Linked DNA regions of Homo sapiens: region 1 is linked to region 2. Evidence: promoter capture Hi-C in 16 types of primary human blood cells and fetal thymus (Javierre and others, 2016). All regions are on one chromosome and are shown on one strand. Each heading gives the region's core, a stretch centred on a gene start or on the middle of the fragment in contact. The rest is flanking DNA. Distances are from core to core; before and after follow the strand shown.

What was found. Contacts are between HindIII fragments. The CHiCAGO score rates a contact against its expected background, and 5 or more counts as called.
Region 1: a fragment that was not itself captured here is called in contact with the fragment with the promoter of TP73-AS3 in region 2 in 1 of 17 cell types (neutrophils); the score reaches 6.9 in neutrophils.

What each region holds. Positions count from the first base shown.
Region 1 is chr1:3,529,533-3,532,884 of GRCh38, reverse strand. All of the region lies in intron 4 of MEGF6 (multiple EGF like domains 6), which reads left to right. Among named protein-coding and RNA genes, the nearest start is that of MIR551A, 30 kb to the left of the region's middle. RefSeq lists enhancers at 1,547-2,232, 2,921-3,352. The HindIII fragment of the contact is 3,584 bases long and covers 197-3,352 here.
Region 2 is chr1:3,667,436-3,670,386 of GRCh38, reverse strand. TP73-AS3 (TP73 antisense RNA 3) reads left to right here and starts at 1,442. Exons shown (of 3, transcript NR_187362.1): 1 at 1,442-1,762. All of the region lies in intron 1 of TP73 (tumor protein p73), which reads right to left. The HindIII fragment of the contact is 8,914 bases long and covers 1-2,951 here.

The DNA.
Region 1 (3,352 bases), core at 739-3,238, 140 kb after region 2:
GGAATGGTGAGGATGGCACTGCATCCCCAGAACCCAGGGCCTGGCACAGCGGCCGCAGCTGAGGTTGGCAGTCCTTCTTCCCCACAGCTCTACCCGTGGCTATGCTCCTGACCTAGGCTTGCCCACATACAGGGCCTGCTGGCCCAGGGAGCATGCACCCTCCTCCTTCCTGACAGCTGGAAGGTATCCCCAAGCTTTCTGTCTCTGCAGTGGCCCCAGTCATGTGGCTTTGTGCCCACCGCTCACCTATTGTCCTCTGGGAGGAGACACAGGCTGCATCTCTGGGAACAGGCTGAGCTCCAGGGACACTTCCACTGCATTTCGGAGGGAGATTTTCGGGCCTTCCTGGAAAGGCCGGGAACAGTGTGGGCGGGCGCCCAGTCCTTCTGTGGACCCTCACCGCCAGTGCTGGAGGTGGTGCTGGGCTGGTCCCAGGCAGGGATCACTGCTGAGGGTCATTGAGCACCACAGCTTGCTGGTCACAGCTCTTCCATCTCCATGGAGGCTAGGAGTGGGAGCCCAGTGACCCCCGACCAAGGATAGGTGCGAGAAGGGGCTCAGAGAGGATGGGGGGCTCTGGGGACTCTGATCCAAGCCGGAATCACAGCCCTGGCTCTCCTGCAGAGGTTAAGTGCTTGACGAGGCTCTAATCTGTGGTTCCTTCTGCTGCCGACCCTGGGAGGACTGCCTCCCCCGGGCTATGCCCTCGAGGAGCGTGGGGACCCAGGGCTCTGGGGTTGGAAGCACCTCCGTGGCCTTTGCAGCCTGACACCTGGGCACTGCTGGCCACCCTGCAGGCAAGTTCTCCCTGCTCTCTGTCCGTCACCACCTGCTGCAGGGATGCCAGCTTTCCCTCGCCCAGGCTCCCTCCAAGTATGGGGCCCTGGGCCAGGGGAGGACAGGACAGTGCAGGCACTGGACGTGGGGACTGGGGGTGTCTCAGCCCATGTTTCCACATCGGTGCTGCAGCTTCAAACCAGTTCCCCATCTTCCCCACCCTTGTCAGAGTTCAGCCCCACCAGCCGCCTCTGCAGGCCCCCCTCCCCCGCCCCGCGGCCCCCCTCCCCCGCCCCGCGGCCCGGCCAGGACGGCTCCCTTTGCTGCTTTGGCTTCTTTTCCGTGTTGGCTCCAAGAACACACATGTTTGTGCATGTGTGTGCCTGTGCGTATGTCCGTGCGTGTCTGTGTACCTCCTGTGTGCATGTTTGCACACGTGAGTCTGTGTGCCTGTGTCTGTGGGTCACATGTGGATGTCTGCGTTTGTGCCTAGGTCCCTATCTGCGTCCGGGTCCGGGAGCGCGCACGCTGGAATGCGCGGGGCGGGCGGGCCGGCGCGGCCCCCTGGGGGAGGTGGGGCGGGGCTCGGGGCGGGGCCGGGGGCGGCTCCCTCGGTTGTCTGCGGACTTGGCCTTTACCTGCGGGGCGGAGGGAAAGCTGAGAACTTAAAGGCGAGGGGCGGGGCGCGCCCGGCCCAGAGCGGCTCCCGGGCGGCGCCGAGCGGAGCGGATCCCGGGGCTGGGATTGCGCGCCCGCCCGGAACCCAGAACCAGCCCGAGCCGCCTGCCCCGTCGCCCGGCCGCCGGCTTAGGGCGCAGCGCGGTTGGTCCTCGCCCCCTCCCGCCCGCCGGCCTACCAGGCCATGGGGGCGTCCCGGGACCGCGGGCTGGCCGCGCTCTGGTGCCTTGGGCTCCTGGGGGGCCTGGCGCGCGTCGCGGGCACGCACTACCGCTACCTCTGGAGGGGCTGCTACCCATGTCACCTGGGCCAGGCCGGCTACCCCGTGAGCGCCGGTGACCAGAGGCCAGGTGGGCGCCGGGCGAGCCTGGGCAGGGCGGGCGGGGCCAGGGCGCTCCCCGGCGCGCTCCCTTTGTTTCCTGTTTTTAAAGTTTGCGCCAGGGCGCTGCCTGCTAGGCTGGAGGGAGCAGGGCGGGGCAGTGCCCGGCAGGCGCGCCTGCTTCTGGGACAGGGTCCGTGGGCGCTGAGGAGTCGGTCACCCCCGTCCCCTCTCAGGGCTGTCGGCAGAGGCTACTAACAGCCAGGTCCCTTGACCGGAGGAAAGAAAAACATCCCCTGACTTTGTCTGTGGGAGCAGGGTTCCCCGCTCCCCATGGCACTGGCGACTCTGCGGGTCAAGTGAAAAGGCAGGCTGGAGACAAAGGCCCTTTGAGACCCCCGGAGCTGAGTCTCCGGGGTCTCCAGAGCTCAGCCCCTTTGGGGTCCTGTCTGTGGATGTGGCAGGTGCCGTTCTTCCTGGAGCCCCACAGGCATGGGCAGCTGAGAACCCTGGTGGCCTGGGAAGCAGGTTACAGCCCTGCTCTCGTTCCGTCCTGCCTCTCTCTGCAGCTGGGATCTGGCGCCTGCACTAGGCCCGCCTCCCTCCAGGTGGTTGCTTTGAACTCCCTGGGATCCACAGAGCTTGGAGCTGGGCACCCTCGGGAATTGGAGGAGGGGGTGGAATTGGAGGAGGGAGTGTGGGGTTTGCGGCTCCCAGTGAGTCGTCAGCCGCATCACCCGGGGGTAGGCAGTGGCTGGCGGGGGGCCCTGAAATGGCTCCTTAGAGACGTCACCCCTCCTTAGCTGTTTCGAGTGCCAGGCCGAGCTTCTGCCTCTCTCCTGCGTGAAGGACTAAGCACCACGCCCTCAGTGTGGCAAAGGCTTCCTTCATTCCCTGGCTTGGTCACTTGGCCTAGGGCAGCCCAGGCTCCATCTTCGCTGGGTAGGCAGCCTTCCGGCTGGGCGGCTCAGCCAAGGCCAGGTCCACCCACAGTGCCACTAAATGCCTTGCGACTGCGAAGCATCCAAGGCCTCTGGCTGGGTGTCGCTGGGCGCTCGGGAGCTGGGAGCCCCTGTCCTGGTCTAAAGCGTGCTCCAGCTTTTGGGGGAGAGAGGAGAAGGGCCCATAGGTAATGGTGTGTGCTCCCTGGGGGTGAGGACCCCGTGGCAAGTGTGGGGACAAAGCAGGGCTTGGAACTTGATAACTGCCCTGAGCGGAGCTTTCTGGCAGGGGCCCAGAGCCCTCCAAGTTTCCTATAAGTCCAGGTGGGCTTCGGAAGGGGCGCGTCTTGGGTGGTTTCTGCAGAGGCAGCTGGTTCGAGGCAGCCCAGCCATGCCTGTCCACCTGCCTGTGTAGTCCTGGGCTGGGAGCTGTGGGACGTGGGTGGTGGTCGCTGGGGGCCCCATGGGCTCCCTGAGGCTCCTCCACCTCCCAGCCTGGTAGACACTGCAGGTCTCGCCAGGCTCCTGGTGAACCAGCCCGTGTTGGCACAGCCGTGTCGCTGTGTGCCAGTGTGCTGACAGTTCTCTTGTGAGGCTGCCAAAGTCCATAGTCTCGTATCTAGCCGAGGGCAGCAGC
Region 2 (2,951 bases), core at 193-2,692:
GGCCTTCTTCCCCACTTCTAAGGGGCTCCTGTACATCCCCACCTGGACATGGGGCTCTTGAGTCTTGAGTTCAGACTGCGGGACCCCAGGGAGACGACACCCACATTCCAGAAGCCTGTGCCCATGTGGTCCCCCGGCCCCATCATCATCCCTGCCTTACCTGTGCCCATGTGGTCCCCTGGCCCCATCATCATCCCTGCCTTAGGGATGAGCAGAGAGATCCTCAGAGTGGTGTAAAACGCACCCAGAGCGACACAGCAAGCCAGGAAGAGCCCATGGTCTCGCCCCCCGAGCCACATGCCCATCCAGGAGGCCAGGCTGGAGACTTTGCAAAGAGCCAAGGGAACAGGATCCAGAGGCCCTGGCCCCTCGGACATTCCCCCAAGGCTTCAGGGAGGAGCTGGTCACTCAGTTTCCCTACCCACCCTCTCACCTCTAGCAACACACTTGCACATACATGCACATGGACACACCTATTCACATATGCGCACACATGTGTCCGCAGGCACTGCCACGTACACACTCTGCCCTCCTCACAGCAAATCCCCACAAGCCCCTCCCCTGTCCCCCAGTTTGATGGGTCCCTGAGGATTCCCCAGCCTGGGAGTCCAGCCCTGGAAGCAGGACCCAGGCAGAAGGAACAGGACATGCCCAGCCCCTTCCTGCCGTCCACGTCATGGTCAGGCTTGGGAGTAGCTGCGTGAGTGCCGGGGAGGCCGGGGCATGGCTTGCTGTTGCCGGGAGAGGCTCCGGGGCCACAAAAGAGTGAGGGGGCTGGGGAGAACTGGGAGGTTCTGGATCAGCTGTGTGAGGCTGAGGATGGCGGCCCCCAGCCGGGAAGCCCCCGGACGTGCCAGGCTGGGGCAGTCACTCTGCGCCTCCTTGGCAGGAAGTGGAAAGAGCTCCTGGTGGGTCCAAGGGGTGGAGGTGGCGGTACCAGAGCCACTTCTGCCCCCGATCCTAGGGTCACACGAGGAGCCCTGATGTGCCACTTGGGGCAGATGGCTCCCCAGAGCTGTGGCTTGTCCCATCAGGAGAACTGTGGGCAAGGCCTCCCCACCCTGGCCTGAACAGTACTGCATTTCCAAGCCGCCTCCTGGGAGGCCGTAGAGGGGCTCTCTGCACCCCAGGGTGGGCCCCCGGAGCCACTGCACCCACGGTGGCAAGGAGACTCCCCCCGACTCAGGCCGAGAGGAGGGCGAGCCAAGCCCAAGCCTACCTTGGCTAAGCCTGGGCCCCGGAGGGTCGGTGGGGCCAGGTGGAAGTGGCCCTCGGCTGGCTCCTGGCTCCCGCAGGCGGGCGGTGGCAGCAGCGTCCCTGTCACCTAGGTGATGACATTGGAGTTGCGAAACTAGGCGGCAGCGTGGCCGGCCTGGAGCTGCAGGGCAGCTGGGGGCGGAGCATGGCCTGGAGCCCTGGGGCTGGAGACGGGCCTGGAGCCAGCACCTGCCGCCTGCCACCTGGCATGCACGCGCCACCCTGCATCCCTGCTCCCCCCAACCCTCCTCAAGGCGACTGACAGGGCCGAGCTCAGGGCAGCCAGGACAGGGCTGTCTCCACCCAGCTTTGTACTCGTTTCTACTCCTCATTGTGGACACTTCCAAGCACACTCAGCACTACAGGGAACGGCCCAGGAACCCATCCACCCGTCCCCAGCTCTCATCACTCTGACCTCTGGCTTTTTGTTTCCTGGGGCATTTCACAGCAAATTCCACCTATGAGACCGTCTCATCCGTAATACACCAGTACATGCTTCCAGCAGGTAAGAACCTCTCTTTTAAAATATTAGGTCAAACCATGAAATTGCTGATAATTAACCGTTTTGGTCCTACCAACAATACACACACACACACACACACACACACACACACGTGCAGCAAGTTCAGATAATTCAACATTATATGCAGCCATAATATCAAATTCTGAATCTTTAATGCTGGTCAGAGGATTTTGAGGAGCCCCGCCCCAATTTTGGAGAGGGAAGTGTGTGTCGCTGCCACTGTGCCACCTTCCTCCCCCACAATTGCAGCAGCACGGAGTGGACAGCACGGATGTGTGTCTAGGTGCTGCACGGATGTGTGTGACAGCTACTCATGGCTGTTGGCTCCAGGAGGGGAGATGGCCCCTCATCGCAGCCGGGTGACTCTTTGGAAAGTGTATCCATGGGTCATTCTCAAGCACACCAATTTGGGTTCCTTGGCTGCAGTGACCTCCTGGCAGGCACTCCTCCTCCCCCACCCCTAGTTCATAGGAAAGTGAGGGGAGAGGAAAGACCTGAACCCAGGGAGGCTGGTGCCTGGCTCCTCTCAACATCCTTGTTGGAGACAAAAGGTGGGTGGGTGACAGGAGGAGCAATAGCAGCTGGACCCTGGCCATAGCCATGGCCAAGTCTGTTCCCTGGTCTGAAGAGCAACTAGCACAGAGTGACAGTGGCCATGAGCCCTGGGGGGACACTGAAGGGGGAGTTCAAGGAGAATTTTTGCACACCTGTGCACCGTAACACAAGGGTTGCAAAGCTATTCCTGAACTCCCCTGCCCTATTTTAAGCTGGGTGGTCCAGATGTGAACTACAGGGCAAGCCCTTGTTTATTTCCTTTTTTTCTTTTTTACTTTTTTTCTTTCTTTTTTTTTTTTTTTGAGACAGAATCTCTCTCTGTCGCCCAGGCTGGAGTGCAGTGGCTCCATCTTGGCTCACTGCAACCTTTGCCTCCCAGGTTCAAGCGATTCTCATGCCTCAGCCTCCTGAATAGCTGGGACTACAGGCACGTGCCACCACGCCTGGCTAATTTTTTGTATTTTTAGTAGAAACGGGGTTTCACCATGTGGGCCAGGATAGTTTCAATCTTCTGACCTCATGATCCACCCGCCTCGGCCTCCCAAAGTGCTGGGATTGCAAGCGTGAGCCACCGCGCCCAGCTGCCCTCGTTTATGCCTATCAGGCAAGAGCTGGA